Linked DNA regions of Homo sapiens: regions 1, 2, 4, 5, 6 and 7 are each linked to region 3. The links are contacts of gene promoters, found by promoter capture Hi-C in blood cells and fetal thymus (Javierre and others, 2016). All regions are on one chromosome and are shown on one strand. Each heading gives the region's core, a stretch centred on a gene start or on the middle of the fragment in contact. The rest is flanking DNA. Distances are from core to core; before and after follow the strand shown. Region 1 holds the start of TMEM14B (transmembrane protein 14B). Region 2 overlaps LYRM4 (LYR motif containing 4). Region 3 holds the start of BLOC1S5 (biogenesis of lysosomal organelles complex 1 subunit 5). Region 4 overlaps PAK1IP1 (PAK1 interacting protein 1). Region 5 overlaps MAK (male germ cell associated kinase). Region 6 overlaps C6orf52 (chromosome 6 open reading frame 52). Region 7 overlaps GCNT2 (glucosaminyl (N-acetyl) transferase 2 (I blood group)).

Region 1 (2,700 bases), core at 110-2,609, 2.7 Mb before region 3:
CAGCTCCCCAGCAGTCAGAAAGAAGTGTGTCCAACCTGCAGGCTATGCAACCTAAGTCTCAGTATCCTTCACTGTACCATGAGGATAACACTGGTACCAATTTCCTGGGGGTGTTGTGAGCATTCAATGGATGTCACATGTAAAGGTGCTTAGCACCTAGTAAACCCTGAACAGATGCCGATCATTTCACATAGGTCCACAGGAAACTCAGCAAGATCCACTGACCAGCTCTATAATCAGGGAATGTGTTAGTCATTTCATTAAGCACTCACATTATCACTAAATCGGAAAGCAAATACTCCCGTGCCCTTAATCCAACTACTTTAATGTCTCTTTTGAGGGGTGGTAGGGATGTTGCTTTTCTTCACTGATGCAACAGCCAATTTCAATACTCAATTTTTTTTTTTAGAAACTTCTGCATCCAACTCACAGTTCTCGTTAGGAGGGCAGAAGGGGAGGGTAAAATACACGGAAACTCAAGTCAGAATCACATGTGACATTGCACCCTTGGAAAAACAGCTCCTATTTTCTTACAGAAAAGTATTCTGTATGCAGTGAACCTAACAAGATGGAAAGCAATGCATACGCCGTTTATTCTGTTTAAAGAATTAGGCCAGGCAAAGTGGCTCACGCCTGTAATCCCAGTACTTTGGGAGGCCCAGGCAGGCGGATTACCTGAGGTTAGGAGTTCGAGAACAGCTTGGTCAACATGGTGAAACCCATATTCTATTAAAACACACACACACACACACAAATCGGGCATGATGGCATGCACCTGTAATCCCAGCTACTTGGGAGGCTGAGGTGGGAGGATGGCTTGAGCCCAGGAGGCAGAGGCTGCAATAAGACATATTCAGGCTACTGCACTCCAGGCTGGGCGACACAGCGAGAACCCCTCCCCACCCCCCAAAAAAAGAAAGAATTAATTTCCCATAAAACGGGGAAGGGCAGCGGGCTTGGGATCTTGCCCACAGTTCTTAACTCGAGGCGGCACTGAGTAAGGGAGGCTTTTAAAGAGCTGGAGCAACAAAACCACCAGGAAACGAGGCAACACTATGCTACAAGGGTAAGCCTTTGCCTCAGGAGCTCAGGTGCTCCGAGCATCCACAGCCTCTTTTAAGACAAGCAGAAAATACCCAAGGAGAAAAGCACCGACCACACGGCATAAAGGCCCGCTGAATCGGGGGGACGAAAAGCAGACGGCCGTGAAACTCCTAAATAATCCCTAAAAGTTAAAAGTGGCAGAAAATAAAAACAATACTCTCCAAAGACCTGCACCGACCTGCCGAAGGCCCGCGGAGTCCACTACGGAGCGCAAGCCGCGGGACACAGCAGCCAGGTCTCTCCGGAAACGCGATTGCGTGCGCGCTGCGCCCCGGGGCCGCGGCAGGGCGGGGAGAAAGGCGGGACGTCGTGGCGCGTGCGCAGTGTCCTTGGAGAGAGGTGAGCGGAGAATGGGGACAGTGGGGGCGGGGCTTGAGCCGCGGATTACCAGCACGCGCCCTGCATCCCGGGGGCGGGGAGTGAGGCGGGGCATCGCGGCTAGCGCCGTTGGCGGGGAACCGGGCGGGGAATCTCTGTGCTTCCTCAGTCCCCAGGCCCAGCACCTGCAGGGCCGACCAGCTCCAGTCCCAGGTCCAATCCTGAGTGGCCAAAAGCCGGAAACCCGGAGTTGGAATTGGATCTTGCACAAGCTGGACCACGTAAGCTGGGCCAGGCCAGAGGTGGAGGCCACCGCTGCGGGAGGAGGGCATCTGATGATTTTGAAGGACCCCATTAATAGAGGGTATAAACCAGGTGCGGGCCATCAGGGAGGATTGTCACTCTGGCCCGATCTTGTTTGTTTACACCAGGAAGGGCCTGCCTTCCACCTGCAAGAAAATATGGCAGCTGCAGAATAATGTGGCGCAATGCCAAATATCCGTTTGTTTTAGGGAGTGAGGCTACTTGAGAAGCATCTTAAATGGGGAGAGAGAGCAAGTTAAATCTGATTTCCACGCAGCTCTGTGGATTCCGAATGTCCACAGTATGATGTTATCTCCATTCCCACTTCCGAGCCGCTCCTCTTCTGTGTTTCCTGCACCACCATTCGCTCAGTTGCTCTACACTAAAATTTGCTGTCATCGTTGACTTCTCCCTCTCCTTCATCCCCTACAAGTATCAACATAGACAACTCCGATCAATATAATCATCAGTGAATAAAGCAAATTGCAGCGCATATTCTTAAAGACAAACTTTCCACTTGCAGCAGCACCTACCTTCCAGATAGCTAAATTGAAGCCCGTGTTTATCATAGCTGCTTCTAACCAGCCAGAGCTGATAATAACTAAGAACTTGCAGGAATTGCAGTATGCCAGACCTTCAATTTAATTGAAGACTTTCCTGAACAATTAATGAGACTTGTCTTAACCAGCAGGGAATGGCTTTAGGGACTCATTCTTCCCTATGCAGGTGCAAGCCTCAAACCTTAATTAGGATCATCCACCATGATCCTCGAGCCCTTCCCCACCTTATACTTGAAGAGGCTGAACCTCAGAGAATTAAATTACCTACAGTCCTGGTCACTGGTAGAGCTATTATTTAAAGTAAGGTCTAATGTCAAAGCCTGCGTCCTTAATTCTACCATATGCTGCTTCTTGCAGTGTCGTTCCTCAACCAGAACACATAGCTCTTCTGTGTAGGTAAAGTCCATCAAAACAT
Region 2 (2,700 bases), core at 121-2,620, 2.8 Mb after region 3:
TTACTATCCAAATATAAATATATTATCCAAAGGAATCTGATAATCATTTTATACTGTTACCTGAGATCATAGACCTAAAAACCGACATTCCTGCTATTACCTCCCTAGATAAACTTACTTGTTATAAAAATACGTCCTTTTACATTAAGGCTGTGTCTTGTGAATTTCAGGAAAAGTCCCTTCCCTCCTCTCTAATCTCTGCAGCTGTTTGTCACTGATGGCAAATCAATAGCAACACAACATCCACTATCAATTCTGTGTGCCACTGCTATCTTATGTTCTTCATGTCTATTAACACATTTGTTTTGACAATAATCTTGTGAGGTAGGTACTATTTGTATTACCCTGTAAGGCAACTGAGGCACAGGGAGCTTAAGTTACCTATCAAAACTAACACAGGTAGTGCTGAATAAGCAATCAAAAGCAGACTAGTAAACGTTTTTTAATGACCTGCGAATTGTGCCTTAAGTAATTAGAGTAGTGAAATAAATACTTTGGAACTCTCTTGCAAGACCTATAATATAGGCCACGTTTTGATAGCAGGAGCCCTGTCTGCTCCTCCAGTCTCAGCCTAAGTCCCACATGTGCATCCTGTCCTCTGTCATCATCAGTTGCAGTTTCCTAAATGTGCCACGTCCTGTTGGGCCTCCAGGCCTTTACAAGTACTGTTCTATCCAGCAGGCCCTTTATCACTCCTGTCTAGAGTGCCCCCTCTTCCTTCAAGATTGAGCTCAATTGTCACCTTCTCTGAACAAAAGTTTTCCCAACTCTCTTCATCCCACAGCTTCCACTCCCATCCCTCCCACCAGCCAAACAGGTCTCATTGCTGTGTGTCATTCTTTTACCTCAGTGCTTCTACAAAACATCTCTGAAGCATGCTTTGCCCAGTGCTATATCACAGCTATCCCCAACCTTCTTGGCACCAGGAACCAATTTCATGGAAGACAGTTTTTCCATGGACCGGGTCAAGGGAGGGGATGGTTTCGGGATGAAACTCTTCCACCTCAGATCATCAGGCATTAGATTCTCATAAGGAGCATGCAACCTAGATCACTCACATGCACAGTTCACAATAGGTGCACCTATGAGAATCTAATGCCGCCGCTGATCTGACAGGAGATGGAGCTCAGGCCATAATGCGCACTCACCCACCGCTCAACTGCTGTGTGGCCCGGTTCCTAACAGGCCACGGACCAGTACTGATGGGTTGGGGACCCCTGCTATACCAAGCCCTGGAGAGAGAAAGATGAGATTTTTGAACTAAGCTAGGCACCTGTTATCAATGGCTTTACAGGCCTATGTGGGACACAGGTACAGAGATAGTTGTCACAGACTGGGTTAAGTGCTGTGACAGAAGGATGTACAAGGTGTGGAATCTAGAAGGCCTCCCAAGGGGTGATGTTGGATCAAAGGCATGAAGCAGCTTGGTGTGGTCAGGCAGGCAAACAGCACAGCACTGCCAGGGAGGTAAGTATGATGGGGTTGGGGGGGCGGTGACAGGAAGGCACTGAGGTTGGAGAGGGCCACTGATTTGAGGGCCTGGGGGCCGTGCTGAGGACCCTGGACTTTACCCTTAGCTCACAGGCAGCCACTAACCTGACATGACCAGATTTGCATTTTCTGATAGATCACTCTGGCAGCAGTGTAGAAGATGATTTTGAGGGGCCAAGGACATCAAATGGGAGTTGATTACAACAGTGCAGAGTAGAGATTAGGACGCTAGTAAGGACAGGAATAGTGGAAGATAGAGAAGAATGTTGTATTTGATAAATCATTAGAAGGGAAAATTGTTGGAACTGGAATGATTGGATTGAGGACTAAGGAAGAAGAGAATCCAAGCAGAGTCTAGAATGGCATCCAGGTTTCTGGTTAAGCTAAAGCACAGAGAGGGTGAATTTAAACTTGCACCATTAACTGACTCAGGTAATACAGAACTAGCTGGTCTTGTGGAGAGAGGGTTTTTTAGTTCATATTTAGGGTATCTTGGGTGTAAATTTCCCCTGGGATGCCCAGCAGAGGTAGTTAATCACAGGGCTCTGAAGCTCAGAGGAGTGATGAGCACTGCAGTAGTCAGCACCACCAACTCTGTGTGACCCCACGCAAGTCACATCACTCTCTGTTCTGCAGTTTCTTTATAAAATGAGAGTCATAATTGATCCATCTCACACAGTGTAAAAGGGTCCTGAGACCAATAAGTTTAAGAACCACATTCTTTTTTTTTTTTTTTTTTTTTTTTTTTTTTTTTTTTTTTCCAGTTGAAATCTTGCCCTTGTTGCCCAGGCTGGAGGGCAATGGTGCGATCTTGGCTCACTGCAACCTCCACCTCCCAGGTTCAAGCAATTCTTCTGCCTCAGCCTCCCGAGTAGCTGGGATTACAGGTGCCTGCCACTACGCCTGGCTAATTTCTGTATTTTTAGTAGAGGCGGGGTTTCACCATATTGGCCAGGCTGATCTTGAACTCCTGACCTAAGGTGATCCGCCCACCTCGGCCTCCCAAAGTGCTGGGATTACAGGCATGAGCCACCGCGCCTGGCCAAGAACCACATTCTTAAATTTTGTCTTCTTGGCTCTTCTTCAGCCAACTCCTTCAATTCTGATGTTCCCTAGAATAGCATCCGTAGCCACTAATTTTCTCACCTTAAACTAGGATTTCTCAATCTTGGCATGACCAACCTTTTGGGCCAGCTAATTCTTTGTTAA
Region 3 (2,700 bases), core at 8-2,507:
AGGTTTCACAGAATGACTCATAGAACTCAAGAAAGTGCTTTCCTTGCTATTACAGTTTTATTATAAAGGACACATATCAGGACCAGCCAAATGAAGAGATGTATAGGGCGAGATGTGGGAGATTTCCCAAATAGAAGCTTACGTGTCCTCAGGAACGCTTCCCCCTCCTGACACTTTGATGAATGATTATCGACCAGTAAGCTCACCTGAGCTTCCACATCCAGAGTACTCACTGGGGTTCCATTATGTAGGCATAGTTGGTTAAATCACTGGCCACATGGCTGAACTCAGTCTCCAGCCCCAATCTGCTCCCCAGAGGTGGGCCTGCTTATGTGACTCAAAGCCTAAGCCCTCATGGTTGGCCGGCCCTTCTGGTGTGGCCAGCCTCCATTCTGAAATCATCTTGGGCCCTCCATGAGCCATCTCATTAGCATAAACTCAGGTGTATTTCCAGAGGCCCACCATGAATAACAAAGACACTTCTATCACTTGGGAAATTCTAAGGATTGAGGGTACCTCCCAGGAACCAGAGTCAAAGTCCAGTCAAATTCTTTATTATACAACGTGAGTTTACTGACTTGAACAGAAAGAGGGAGCAAGAGAAGCATTCTAGGAAACAGGTGTCTAAAAAGAAAGGCAGGAATAGTCAGCCACACTCATGGCATAGTAGGGAAACAGCCCCCAGCTAATTGGCTTTGCTATACAGTAGTCCCCCCTTATCTGAGGTTTCACTTTCTGTGGTTTCATTACCCGCAGGACGGTACAATAAGATATTTTGGGAGAGAGACTACATTCACATAACTTTTATTAAATTGTTCTAATTGTTCATCTCTTACTGTGCCTAATTTATAAACTTTATCATATGTATATACAGGAAAAAACATAGTATATACATGGTTCAGTACTATATGCAGTTTCAGGAATCTACTGGGGGTCTTGGAATGTATTCTCAGCAGATATGGGAGGACAACTGTACTGGAATGCACCAGCTTTGAGCCAAATAACCAGGGCTCTGAGTTTAGCTCCAAAGTTCAAGCACCTTCCTATTCTAGCAGCATCCGCCCTGATCCAGCATGGCGGCAAGAGCTTCTGCCAGTTCACAGCCTGACTACACGGCAGGCGCCTTTCCGGAACCGCCCGCTGGGTAGATTAAATTTCTCCGGCGCCCTGTAATGACACACACACAAAAAAAACCCGGGCGCGCCTTGTAAGAGGGCGGCCGGGTTTGCGCAGGCGCAGCGTGGCCGCGGGTGGGCGGAACTGGTCGGGATGAGTGGCGGAGGGACAGAGACCCCTGTGGGTTGTGAGGCCGCCCCGGGCGGTGGCAGCAAGAAGAGGGACTCCCTGGGGACTGCGGGCTCAGCGCACCTCATTATCAAGGGTACGGAGTGTCAGGGCTATAGTTCCTGGTGGATCCCAGCACAGCCTCATCTCCCAGGCGGCGCCCTCTGACCCGGGCCGACCCCCGGGTCCCGGGCTGGCGCGCGTGCGTTTGTGCGGGTGGGGGAGTCGTGGTCGGTCCCCGCCTTTTTCCCCGCGCCAAATGCGTCCCACCACAACCAACCAGCCCAACTCTTCGTGTTTCCCCGCTTTCCTCTGTCGCAGCCTGAGCCATCAGGCCCGCCCCCGTCCATTCCGCAAGCTCAGGACCCCTGGGCGCAGAGCCTTTGGGCAGCCTCGCCACCGACGTGTAGTGGAAAGGGCATTGGACCTGGGAGGCGGGAGGCAGTCGCTTAGGAGTTGAGTGACTTCGGGTCACTGGCTTTACTCACTCTCCTACCCGATCTGTTCCTGGTCGTGCGAGGAGTAAGTGAGATACACTTACGAAGGCGCTCTATAGCACTGTAAAGAACCATTCACGTTCAGAAATGTCCATGTGTTCTGTGTGCTTTGAGCTGGGAGAAGGTTACAACCTAGATTCTCACAGAATCTGCTTTAGGTTTGACTCCTAAAGCTCACAACGCTGTTTGCTGCGTGAAAGTCTTTGACAGTTGAGTTGTAGTGCTTTATATATACCAGATATAAAGTGCTTATATACAGTGCTTGTATTATTTTTTCTACTTGACATGCTTAAGAAGATATGTACTAATAAAATTCATTAAAATAGAGAATTGAAACCTGCCCATCGTATGTCTGCAAAAATGAAAAATTTGGGGAACATTGCCAGTGAATGAATATGAATAATACATTGTCTTAGATTTAATTTCTCAAGGAATTTTGAGACTTACATTTTAAACTACATAGTTGTAACTAAGAAGAATAATAAACTGACTCACCAAAAGACTTAAATTCAGACCTTTTCTTAATGACTTTTTCAGACTTATGAAAAAGAGACTTACAATGAACATTCACCACCCACCTTAATAAATAAATTACTAAAAGCCCCACTGTGTCTTGCTCTAATTGCACTAGTTCCCCTCCCTCGTCTCAAGGTAGCCACTATCCAGAATTTGGTGTTTATTATTCTTGTGCATTTCTTTATAGTTTTGTTGCTTCTGTCTATATCCCAAAAGGAAATATTTTGAATATTTTAAAGTTTTATGTAAATTGCTTTAATCCTTCTGAAACTTGCTTTTTTATTATATTTATTATAAAATACGTATTATTTTTTATATTTATGTTGATAAGTGTAACTCTGATGTATTTATTTTTACTTGGTGATTGATAGAATTCCATTGTATGAGTATGGTTAAGGTGTTT
Region 4 (2,700 bases), core at 98-2,597, 2.6 Mb before region 3:
GATTTCTTAAAACTTAACCACTGTTTAAGAAATAAGAATTAAGACTCATTTGAGACATAGAACATGCAAATGGATCACATCAAAATCTAACTCTGTATATTAGATCACCTTTTTCAAAATTACTGGAGAAAGCAGGGATATAAGAGTCAGATAAAACCGGGTTCAGCTCTCAGCTCCACTATTGGGGTAATATTGGCCAACCACTTAACTACTTACTTTGAGACTATCTACCCCCTAGAAATAGAGAAAGCATTAAAAGGTAATAAAAGCTGGCACAAAACAGGAACTCAATAACGTCAATTCACTTCTCCTGCAGGAAAAAAAATCACATGGAAAGGGGGAAGAAGTAGGCAAGGGGACTTATGTAAAAGGACAAAAGTAGATGGGAACAAAGCTCAAGATTGTTTAGTCTTTTGTTTGTTCAAATATGCTTGATTTCAGGCTCCAAGTCTAACAGACATTTAAAAAATACCTTGTGTAAATGACAGTCCAGAAAACAATTTCACCACTTTTGCATTATTATTATTATTTTTTTTGAGACAGAGTCTCACTCTGTCACCAGGTTGGAGTGCAGTGGTGCGATCTTGGCTCACTGCAACCTCCGCCTCCAGGGTTCAAGTGATTCTCCTGCCTCACCCTCTCGAGTAACTGGGACTACCAGCGTGCACCACCACACCAATTTTTTTATTTTTAGTAGAGACGGGGTTTCACCATGTTGGCCAGGATGGTCTTGATCTCTTGACCTCCTGATCCGCCCGCCTCAGCCTCCCAAAGTGTTGGGATTACAGGCGTGAGCTACTGCTCCCGGCCCACTTTTGCATTATTAAATGCCAGGAAGATAACATCTTCCACCACCTTATTAGACTACAGATACCATATACTGTACATGTAGATATGTCTGATTATTTCTGCAGTTGTTAATAAAAACATATAACCTGGCTTATGAAACTACTGCATATATACCTTTTATTAAGACTAGACATATACACCAAAGATTGGTAAAAATACCTGTTTTCATGAGCTTTAAATTCGCAGAGGCACACTAGTGAATCACAGTCAAAAAACCTTATAACTTCTTCATCTCCAGCCACTGCAAGGACAGACTCCTAGGAGAGAGGAAAAAGAGTAATAACATCCAGAATGTCATCAACAGTTCCAACCATCACCACAAACTTTGGTCAATGATTTCTGATTACTTACTGAAAGAAATTTAACAGAGGAAATTCTCTTTTCATTTGTGATGGTGCCACTAATGGATGCAGTGTCAAGCTGATAGATGTCTATTTTATTCTGTATGATAACTACATACTGCTCTCCTCTTGGGGACCATTCTACTATGTGAGCATCTGTAAGTGGAAAAAAACGAAGTTTATTTATTTTGTAAATAAAACATAAAATGATCATAGTAATAAAAATAGCAAATATTTATACTGTGCATTTTCAAATTCATTATCCTATTTCATCTTCGTAACACATTTTACAAGTCAAGTTTTTTAGAAAATAATCTAGGTTCAAAAAGTCAAAGGTGGGCCAGGTGCAGTGGCTCACACCTGTAATGCCAGCACTTTGGGAGGCCAAGGTGGGTGGATCACTTAAGGCCAGGAGTTTGAGACCAGCCTGGCAAACATGGTGAAACCCCATCTCTCTACCAAAAAATACAAAAAATTAGCCAAGCATGGTGGCACGCGCCTGTAATCCCAGCTGCTTGGGAGGGTGAGGCAGGAGAATAACGAACTCAGAAGGCAGAGGTTGTAGGGAGCTGAGATAGCGCCACTGCACTCCAGCCTGGGTGATAGAGCGAGACTCCATCTCAAAAAATAAAATAAAATAAAAAATATAAAATAAAATAAAATGAAACAAAATAAAAATCAAAGGCAGGTGGCAGAGCCACAAAAAGAATCTAGTCTAAAATGGGAAAAGAAAGTAACCCAAGGCATTTGCTCAGAGGTAACCACCACCATGCAGGGAAATAAATGTGTAACATACACACATGTAAAAATGTATATCTATATTCATATTCCATTAAGTCACTGTAAAATATACAGGTTGAGTATCCCTTATCCAAAATGCTTGGGACCAGAACGATTTTGGATTTTGGAATATCTGCATATATACAATGAAATATCTCGAGGATAAAACCCATGCAACTCATGTTTCAAGTCTAAACATGAAATTCATCTATGCTTCATATACACCTAGCCGGAAGGTAATTTTACACAATATTTTAAATAATTTTGTGTATGAAACAAGGTTCTGACTGTGACCCATCATGAGGTAAGGTGTTGAATTTTCTACTTGAGGCACCACATCAGTGCTCAAAAAGTTTCAGATTTTGGAGCATTTCAGATTTCCAGATTAGGAATGCTCAACCTGCATTTCAAACAAAAATACTCACTTTGTTTTATATTTTTTATGAATGCTGATCTTCCTTCTACAAGATTCCACGTTCTGCAAAACAGGAAGCTCACTTACGGTGTGATCACCAACTAACTTTTACTAAGCGTAAAAGAACAAGCATAATGAAGACTTAAGTGACATTTTACTAAATATTGGCTATTTAGAAGACCTGCTATCTTCCTTACAGCAATATTTTGAAATATTATGAGGCAGGATTAAGACTTGCTTCATTCCCATATCCCTTTAACATCTCGTATCCATTGTATTTTCAAAAGGTTTCCCTTTCTAAAATCTTCAATTCAC
Region 5 (2,700 bases), core at 164-2,663, 2.8 Mb before region 3:
TTTTTTTCCTGCGTTGCTTTTTAAAGAGTTTGGTGACTTTTAAAACGTTAATTACTCTTTTGTTGTGTATTAGAAGCGTTAAGCCAGCCTCGGAGTGACATAATATGTTCTAGAAAGCCACGTTGAAGACATCCAAGCCTTATCTCTTCAGTTTTTGGCAGACGCTTGTTTTACCCTTCATTTGCCCTCTTTGCTAATCTTCTTTAATCCTATCTGAATCTCTTATTAGCTGGCAAAAGCTGTTGAGAGTAAAGGCTATATTTACAACAATTGTGCACTTAGAGAAACGGTAATTATGAACTTAGATTAAAAAGTTGAAAACTAGAATGAGAGATAAATTATAAGGGTATTTATTTTTGTGTAGGTCTATAATTAAGCCTCTAAATAAGCATCTTTTTCTTTAACCCATAGGAAGGTCAATAAATGTTATAGCTTGATTGTAGAAAATTCCAAGTTTTTAACAATTCTGTTAAATTGAGGATGATAGTTATATTTACTTGGGTTTTTTGTTGCATATGTATCATATCTATATATATTCATGTACATAAGAAACTGTGTTAATATATTCCTATTTTGTAGATTAGTTTTCCATAGGTCAACAGAGAAGAATATATGTAACTTGTAGAGAAATATTATTGTGCGTGAACTGGAGAACCATGGGAAGCCTGTGTTTAAGGAACATAGACTGCTTTTTGATTAGTAATCAGTAGTTGCTATGCCACATTGATAAAAGTAGTTGCTTATGTGCTATCAGGGAGCAGGGACATGGAATAATGATTTTTTAAAAGCTTTACCTTGATGTCTATGTCTCTACATTAGACAATTGTATGTTCAGGGGATAGAAGGAACAGTTGCAATGATCAGCGTCTCACCCTGGGCAGCTGTTGATTTTGTAATTAATGTAGTTCAAAAGAAGCCTTTCCAAAGTTTTTTCTTAGGGAGCGCAGTATGTAAAGTTGTTTTACTTAAAGGTTAGGTAGGGCTTAAATGGGACAGATCCTCACAGAACCACTAATCTGACCTTTTAAAAATCTATGTCACGTCCGTAATCCTCAACACTCCACCCCTCAAACAGAAAGGAGCTGGGAAATGGTCGTGTTCCTTGCTTATTCTTCCCTCAATATAAGTACACCCTATCCTATAGCCATCATCCGTTGAAAGACAATTGGTGTTGCCGGTGTTTATTCAGAAGTTGATTGGTTAGGCTTGGAATGAAGTTGCCAAAATAGCCACTCGCAAAGAGACTGTGCACGCAGGCTTGGGTCGAAAGTCATCAGTGACTGAATGCTCTATTGTGCTGATAGTGCTGGTGCAGCTTCAGGTCACCCTCCCACCCCAGGGCGGTGGTGATGGGGGTGGCTGATGGCCTTAATAGTGGAAGAGAGAGGTGTAATTAATTCTTAATTTTTAGATTGTTGGGCCAATGAAGGTGATTTTTTTGTCACTCTTTGTGTTTCCACTTCCTGAATAACACTCGCTACCATCATTACCATGCAACCAGAGGCAGCTCCCTCTTCCATTCCCTTCTCAAGTCATATGTCCTTTTTCAGAATTGTCTGCATTACTTTTCTACCTTTTAGACCCTCAAATGCTTGTCCTTGGTTAGGTGTTAACATGAAAATAATTTGGTTAAAAGAAAAGATGATGCTATCATACCATTATGTTTCTGAATTAAATAATTTTCATGGCTGGGCGCAGTGGCTCACGCCTATAAACCCCAGCACTTTGGGAGGCCGAGGCAGGTGGATCACATGAGGTCAGGAGTTCAAGACCAGCCTGGCCAACGTGGTAAAACCCTGTCTCTACTAAAAATACAGAAATTAGCCGGGCATGGTGGCACGCGCCTGTAATCCCAGCTACTCAGGAGGCTGAGGCAGGAGAGTCCCTTGAACCTGGGAGGCGGAGGTTGCAGTGAGCAGAGATAACGCCACCACACTCCAGCCTGGGCATCCGAGCTGTAGGAGATTGGTCAGGGTGGTGGGAAAAATCGTAGAAAGATGCAAACCTTCTTGGAAGGCCAGGGGTTTGCAAAGCTTCAAAAGAAAATTTGGCTGAAGGCAGCTGAATTCTCTTAAGAGCTTAGGTTAGATAACAAGGGGATGTAAAGAAACTAATCTAGATAAGTTAGTTTACTTAGGCCTCAGAACCTGGCCTTTAATCATCCAGACGCAGGACTGCGTGGGGCGGGGGAGCGGTGCGACCATGTTAATTACCCACAAGTGTGTTAACTCAAAGCCTTTGTCATTAAATCTGTGCTGAATAAATGCCCACAGCGCCAGCTGAGCAGGGCCACGGTTTACAGCACCCTCCTGGGGTCTGTGTGCTGCCCGGTCCCCTAGCCCGCTCTTTCACTGGATACCTGTGTCTGAGTGCATTCTTTGATCTGTCATTCAGCCAGGGTCTGCGGGTCGGACCTGGCACAGAGTGAGACTCTGTCTCAAACAATAATAATAATAATAATAATAATTTTCATGAGAGGAGCACCACCTAGATTCTTTCTCCCTTAACCATTCAAGTTCTAAGGTCTCACTCTTTCCCTTCACTGTTTCTGTTATTTTTCACTGGTCTGAATGACCCAGATGTAGCATTAGGGTTTAGTCAGGATATGGAGTAGTCCCACTTCACTTTCCAGGTAGTCAGCAATATCTTAGTGTTTGAGTGAAGAGCTGCATTAGGAATCTTAAGGTGGAGGTTGGGGTA
Region 6 (2,700 bases), core at 111-2,610, 2.6 Mb before region 3:
ATAATATTTTGTTGCAGGAAACCACACCTCTAGCTGAAAACCAAGATGAAGACCCACTAGAAGGTAACATAAACCTTGTGCTGAAGTGGTTGGAAACAAAACCCCATTTCCTGGTTTCTCATTCACTCAGCTTGCTAGAAACTGGAAGGTTCTATTGGAAAATTCCAATGTAGGTTGCCTAAGCCATATGCTTCAGTAATTTCTCCTGTTTTTAGAAACTGGTTCTATGGGAACAACTTTAACTAAGCCACCTCTTTGGGCCTTTCTGAAGGACTGAGAAAGGGGGACATTCCCAAACAGTAAGAAGACAATACATTGTTCTTAAGCTCCATTTCCTCTGTAAGTTTAGACTTTGAGGAGAATTATGCTTTAATTCTCTTTTTCAAGGGGGAAGAGCATGAGGTGATTGCTGTGGCCTCAGGGTTATTGGATCCTGGGGTACCTGACAGAGCAGCACTGTAGTGTCAGTCTGGTGGTGCTTCCTGTACTTCTCAATTTGTTTTGGAAAGAACAAAGTTTGCCTGCCTAGAGACAAACACTCTGAATGTGTCTTATTTGAGGAAGGGGAAAAAATGTTTTGCTTCTTTTAAGTAATGGGAAAGAAAAATAGAGGAGAAATGCAGAGAACACTATTGCCTTTTTCTTATCACATGTCTGTCTTATCACATGTTTGTCTAATCTCTCTCTTGCCCAAACCCCTGCCCCTACCAGACAAACCCACCCACTGCCTTTATGACTTTATCAAAGAAGGGAGCATGTTGTTATCAGTCTTTGTAGGCCCTGTTACTAATTCAGAGAGTTCACATGTCAGTAGGTGCTCAGTGTTTAAATTAAATCAAATTGGTGTTGAAAAGAAATGTTTATATGCTGTTGAGCAGTTGTAGTTTTTAGTACTTTGATTTAAACATGAGTAAAGGGTGCTTATTTCAACTTTGTGGGATTTCTTTCAGATTAAGTGTGAGTCTTTCTTCCTGCCTTTTATCAGTTATGCAATTTATTAAAATTGATGCAGGATTTCTTGCTCCTTAGTTCAGCTAAATCTGGGTCCTTGTCTCACAACCAGGAAAAATTAGGCATGTGGATACATTGAAGGGTGAGGAGGATGGAATTTATTAAGTGAAAGGAAAGCTCTTAACAAAAAGAGGGATCCCAAACACAGGTTTCCACCTCACAAATTGAATACCAGGCCATCACATACGAGTTGAAAAGGCCAGGCTCCTCCCCTGCATAAGGTGTGAATTCCTGGTGACTCCTCCTCATTCTTCCAATGTGCACGTGGGCCCTTAGTCTGAGCCACTCCACATTGATTTATTTCCCTTATTGCACATGTGTTAAAAGATGGAATTTTTCACCGTGGGCATGTTTAGCCAAGCCCCCTGTGCACAATGACTTGGGCAGGTTGGAGGTTCTCCAGGGACCTTACCCTATTTGCCTAGGCATTTGGCTGTCCCATGCCTCTATCAAAATAATAGAGGTAAAAGTCTGCTTTTTGGATACAGATTGCCACGGGGTTCAGATTCTACCTACTAGCTCTGTAATTCCAGACAAATTAATCTCTAGTGTGTCTGCTTCAGTTTCTGTAAAGTGGGGACATTGATACCTTTCTTATAGGAAGTGTGGGTATGCTAGGTCTACAGTACTTTTAGGTGGTTAAACAGCTGCTGCCATATCATAAACACTCAAGTATTGGCTGGTCATCAATCTGGCACAGTACTGGTCAGTAGAAATGTAATGCAGTTGCACCTCAAGGAGCTAGAAGAACAAGAACAAAGTAAACCCAAAATTAGTAGAAGAAAAGAAATAATAAAGACTATAGCAAAAATAGATAGAAACTAGAAAAACAATACAAAAGATCAACAAAATGAAGGGTTGGTTTCTTTAAAAGATAGTCAACAAACCTTTAAGAACAAAAGAAACTCAAAATCAGATGAAAAAGGAGACATTACAACTGATATCACAGAAATACAAAGGAACATAAAAGACAATTATGAACAATTATACATCAGTAAATTGGATAACATAGAAGAAATGAGTAAATTCCTGGACACATACAATCTACCACCTACCAAGATTAAATTATGAAGAAATAGAAAACCTGAACAGACCAATAATAAGGAATTGAAACAGTAATAAAAAGTTTCCCATCAGGCCAGGCCTGGTGGATAATGCCTATAATCCCAAGCACTTCGGGAGGCTAATAGGGGAGGATCATTTGAGCCCAGGGGCTTGAGACCAGACTTGGCAATACAGTGAGACCTTGTCTCTACAAAAAATTTAAAAAAATAACTGGGTATGGTAGCATGTACCTATAGTCCCAAATATTTGAGAGGCTGAGATAGGAGGATTGCTTGTGCCCAAAAGACTGAGGCTTAAGTGAGCTATGAATGTGCCACTGCATGTCAGCCTGGGTGACAGAGTGAGACCCTGTCTCAAAAAAAAGTCTCCCATCAAAGAAAAGCCCAGGTCCTGATGGCCTGTTTAATTCTACCAAACATTTATTTTTCATTTTATTTTATTTTTTGTAGAGGTGGAGTCTCACTTTGTTGCTCAGGTTGGTCTCAAACTCTTAGGCTCAAGCGATCCTCCCAGCTCTGCCTCCCCAAGGGCTGGAATTACAGGCCTGAGTCACCATGCCCAGCCCCCAGATATTTAAAGAAGAACTAATGCCATGTCTTAAACACTCCAAAAAATCGAAGACGA
Region 7 (2,700 bases), core at 1-2,500, 2.5 Mb before region 3:
TCACCTGAGGTCAGAAGACTAGCCTGGCCAACATGGTGAAACCCCGTCTCTACTAAAAATGCAAAAATTAGCCAAGCGTGGTGTCATGCACCTGTAATCCCTGGTGCTGCGGAGGCTGAGACAGGAGAATTGCTTGAACCCAGGAGGAGGAGGTTGCAGTGAGCCAAGATGACATCACTGCACTCCAGCCTGGGTGACAGAGCGAGACTCCATCTTAAAAAAAAAAAAAAAAAAGAGCAGCATGGAATCTGGCAGATACCAGGGGAAGACATAGGAAGTAGAACCCACAGGGTGGAGGAGCCCATAAACCAGGGGAAGTGCTGAAGCACAGGCAAGAATTTCAAATAAAGTAGAAGCAGGCAAAGCAAAACCAGCAGAGGTGGAGACTCTGCGACATGAGGACGGCCAACGTCTCGGTGCTGCTAGGGCGGCAGAGCCTGACCACTGCACCAGCAATGAGGATGCGTGGTCCACCTCCCCTGCCTGTGGTCGCAGCCACAGGCCACAAGTAAAAGTGATGTTTCAAACTGAGTTAAATAAAATACATTCTTTTTTTTTTTTTTTTTTTTTTTTTTGAGACAGAGTCTTGCTCTGTCACCCAGGCTGGAGTACAGTGGCATGATCTCAACTCACCACAACCTCTGCCTCCTGGTTCTCCTAAATCGCTGAAGCGATTCTCCTGCTTCAGTCTCCCGAGTAGCTGGGGTTACAGGCACAAGCTACCACGCCTGGCTAGTTTTTTGTATTTTTAGTAGAGTTGGGGTTTCACCATGTTGGCCAGGCTGGTCTCAAACTCCTGACCTCAAGTGATCCGCCCACCTCGGCTCCCCAAAGTGCTGGGATTACAGGCGAGAGCCACCACACCTGGCATAAAATACATTCTTTAAATTCATATTATCTGCTTCTTTTTACTTCTTTTAATGTGGCTCCTGGAAAATCTAAAATTTGATTTTAGATCTATGGCTCCCATTATAGCATTCCTATTGGGCAGTGCTGTTCTCCCTTCCCATGAGACCACTTCAGCTGTGAGATGTTTTTCTGGACTAATTTTTTTTTAAATTTTTATTTCTGAGATGGAGTCTCACTCTGTCGCCCAGACGCGAGTGCAGTGGCAGGATCTTGGCTCACTGCAACCTCCGCCTCCCAGGCTGAAGTGATTCTCCTGCTTCAGCCTCCCGAGTAGCTGGGATTACAGGCACGTGCCACCACACCCGGCTAATTTTTGTATTTTTAGTAGAGATAGGTTTCACCATGTTGGCCAGGCTGGTCTTGAACTCCTGACTTCAGGCGATCCACCCAGCTCAGCCTCCCAAAGTGCTGGGATTACAGGCGTGAGCCACCACACCTGGCCTGGACTAGTTACTTTACAGAATCCTAATCATAATCCCTCAATCATGACAATGAATTGGAACAATCTCAAAATGTCCCTCGCACACCTGCCAAAAAAAAAAAAAAAAAAAAGCAAAAACCACAACATATACACATCAACCAGAAGGACCCTTACAACGGAAAATGGCTCAGATCTCCACATAGCCGGAATAATAATTAAACAAGACAACCCTTAGGTTTCTAATTCCCTAACCTCCTACATTCAGCCCTGCCTCAGGTCAGGAAAGAGTTGGCAGGGCTTGCCCGATGTGGTGGCTCACGAGGCTGAGGCAGGAGGATCGCTTGGGCCCAGGAGTTCAAGACCAGCACTGGCAACACAGCAGGACCTCGTCTCTACAAAAGTTAAAGTTAGCCAGGCATGGGGGCACATGCCTGTAGTCCCAGCCTCTTGGAAGGCTTGAGCCTGGGAGGTCAAGACCAGCACGGGCTGGGTGCTGTGTGGCTCACACCTGTAATCCCAGCACTTTGGGAGGTTGAGGCCGTGAGCCGTGATTGTGCCACTGCACTCCAGCCTGGATGACAGAGTGAGATCCAAAAAAAGAAAAAAAAGAGTTGGCAGAGCTGGTCAGGGTCCTCCGGCAGTGTTCCTCCACACACATAACACAGAAATGACTTCAGGGGCTAACTTTTGTTAAGTTTCTGAAAAACATGAATTGGTGCATTTGTTTTCTATTGCTTTGCCAATCTGTTACTGCTAACACGGGGTGTAAAAATCCAGCTCCAATAGATACATCGAGTCGAGAAGTCAGGGGGTTTCCCTTAAGTTTCTGTTGAGTCCCCTGATTAGGATCACAGACTCTGAGAGTGGGAAGGGACTCGGAGGCCATCCGGTCCAATCCTTGAGGTTTCCTCAGCAGCACTTCCCCAGCCCTGCTTCCCTTGGCTTTGCTCACCATTGAGGAAGCTGCCCGTTTTATTCCCAGCTCCATGTGTTCTCATCTCCCACCCGCTGGCCCTAGATTCTACTTCCAAAACGACAGAGTTGGTCTAATTTCTCTTTCCTGAGCAAATCTTTTAATTAGGTAAAGACACCGATCCCTCTTCAAGTCTTTTCCAAATCAATTATCCTTTTTCTTTGTCTTGGTCTTCTCTAAAAAAAAAAAAAAAAAAAAGTGGGGATTGGCCTTTTTACCTCCCTGGCTGCTCTCTTTGGAACTGCTGTGTCAATGTCTCCCCGTATAGTAGGGTGGCCAGACCTGAAGAGTCTACATCCTACTCCAAGCACATGGGAGAGAAGTGAGGCTTTCACTTCCCTTACTCTGGACACTACAATTCTATTTAAACAGCTCTGTGCTTTCCCCACCAGACTTT

What was found. The method cuts DNA at HindIII sites, captures the fragments that hold promoters and counts their contacts. A CHiCAGO score of 5 or more calls a contact.
Region 1: the fragment with the promoter of TMEM14B here is called in contact with the fragment with the promoter of BLOC1S5 in region 3 in 8 of 17 cell types (non-activated CD4 T cells, naive CD8 T cells, activated CD4 T cells and 5 more); the score reaches 22.9 in non-activated CD4 T cells.
Region 2: a contact is called between a fragment that was not itself captured here and the fragment with the promoter of BLOC1S5 in region 3, in 2 of 17 cell types (total CD4 T cells and naive CD8 T cells). The highest score is 6.7, in total CD4 T cells.
Region 4: a contact is called between a fragment that was not itself captured here and the fragment with the promoter of BLOC1S5 in region 3, in 8 of 17 cell types (non-activated CD4 T cells, naive CD4 T cells, naive CD8 T cells and 5 more). The highest score is 32.6, in non-activated CD4 T cells.
Region 5: a contact is called between a fragment that was not itself captured here and the fragment with the promoter of BLOC1S5 in region 3, in 4 of 17 cell types (total CD8 T cells, naive CD8 T cells, total CD4 T cells and 1 more). The highest score is 7.4, in total CD8 T cells.
Region 6: a contact is called between a fragment that was not itself captured here and the fragment with the promoter of BLOC1S5 in region 3, in 6 of 17 cell types (total CD4 T cells, activated CD4 T cells, naive CD8 T cells and 3 more). The highest score is 16.8, in total CD4 T cells.
Region 7: a contact is called between a fragment that was not itself captured here and the fragment with the promoter of BLOC1S5 in region 3, in 5 of 17 cell types (M0 macrophages, non-activated CD4 T cells, total B cells and 2 more). The highest score is 8.2, in M0 macrophages.

What each region holds. Positions count from the first base shown.
Region 1 is chr6:10,746,464-10,749,163 of GRCh38, reverse strand. It overlaps TMEM14B (transmembrane protein 14B), which reads right to left and starts at 1,359. Exons shown (of 6, transcript NM_030969.5): 1 at 1,283-1,359. It overlaps TMEM14B-DT (TMEM14B divergent transcript), which reads left to right and starts at 1,580. Exons shown (of 2, transcript NR_187231.1): 1 at 1,580-1,703. RefSeq lists silencers at 1,330-1,389, 1,345-1,565, 1,400-1,629 and an enhancer at 1,750-1,799. The HindIII fragment of the contact is 12,296 bases long and covers 1-2,700 here.
Region 2 is chr6:5,256,043-5,258,742 of GRCh38, reverse strand. All of the region lies in intron 1 of LYRM4 (LYR motif containing 4), which reads left to right. It also overlaps a transcript of FARS2 not described here. Among named protein-coding and RNA genes, the nearest start is that of LYRM4, 3.6 kb to the left of the region's middle. The HindIII fragment of the contact is 3,663 bases long and covers 1-2,700 here.
Region 3 is chr6:8,062,946-8,065,645 of GRCh38, reverse strand. BLOC1S5 (biogenesis of lysosomal organelles complex 1 subunit 5) reads left to right here and starts at 1,257. Exons shown (of 5, transcript NM_201280.3): 1 at 1,257-1,381. The coding sequence starts at 1,270. BLOC1S5-TXNDC5 (BLOC1S5-TXNDC5 readthrough (NMD candidate)) reads left to right here and starts at 1,232. Exons shown (of 13, transcript NR_037616.1): 1 at 1,232-1,381. The region is part of intron 3 of EEF1E1-BLOC1S5 (EEF1E1-BLOC1S5 readthrough (NMD candidate)); the gene reads left to right. RefSeq lists enhancers at 1,624-1,813, 1,423-2,049. The HindIII fragment of the contact is 8,031 bases long and covers 140-2,700 here.
Region 4 is chr6:10,703,153-10,705,852 of GRCh38, reverse strand. It overlaps PAK1IP1 (PAK1 interacting protein 1), which reads right to left. Exons shown (of 10, transcript NM_017906.3): 5 at 2,396-2,448; 6 at 1,201-1,346; 7 at 1,009-1,106. Among named protein-coding and RNA genes, the nearest start is that of PAK1IP1, 9.5 kb to the right of the region's middle. The HindIII fragment of the contact is 5,983 bases long and covers 1-2,700 here.
Region 5 is chr6:10,834,547-10,837,246 of GRCh38, reverse strand. All of the region lies in intron 1 of MAK (male germ cell associated kinase), which reads left to right. Among named protein-coding and RNA genes, the nearest start is that of MAK, 2.6 kb to the left of the region's middle. The HindIII fragment of the contact is 1,245 bases long and covers 791-2,035 here.
Region 6 is chr6:10,680,550-10,683,249 of GRCh38, reverse strand. It overlaps C6orf52 (chromosome 6 open reading frame 52), which reads left to right. Exons shown (of 5, transcript NM_001145020.3): 4 at 18-63. Among named protein-coding and RNA genes, the nearest start is that of C6orf52, 13 kb to the left of the region's middle. The HindIII fragment of the contact is 4,166 bases long and covers 1-2,700 here.
Region 7 is chr6:10,531,676-10,534,375 of GRCh38, reverse strand. All of the region lies in intron 3 of GCNT2 (glucosaminyl (N-acetyl) transferase 2 (I blood group)), which reads right to left. Among named protein-coding and RNA genes, the nearest start is that of GCNT2, 12 kb to the right of the region's middle. RefSeq lists enhancers at 1-4, 125-374. The HindIII fragment of the contact is 3,081 bases long and covers 1-2,700 here.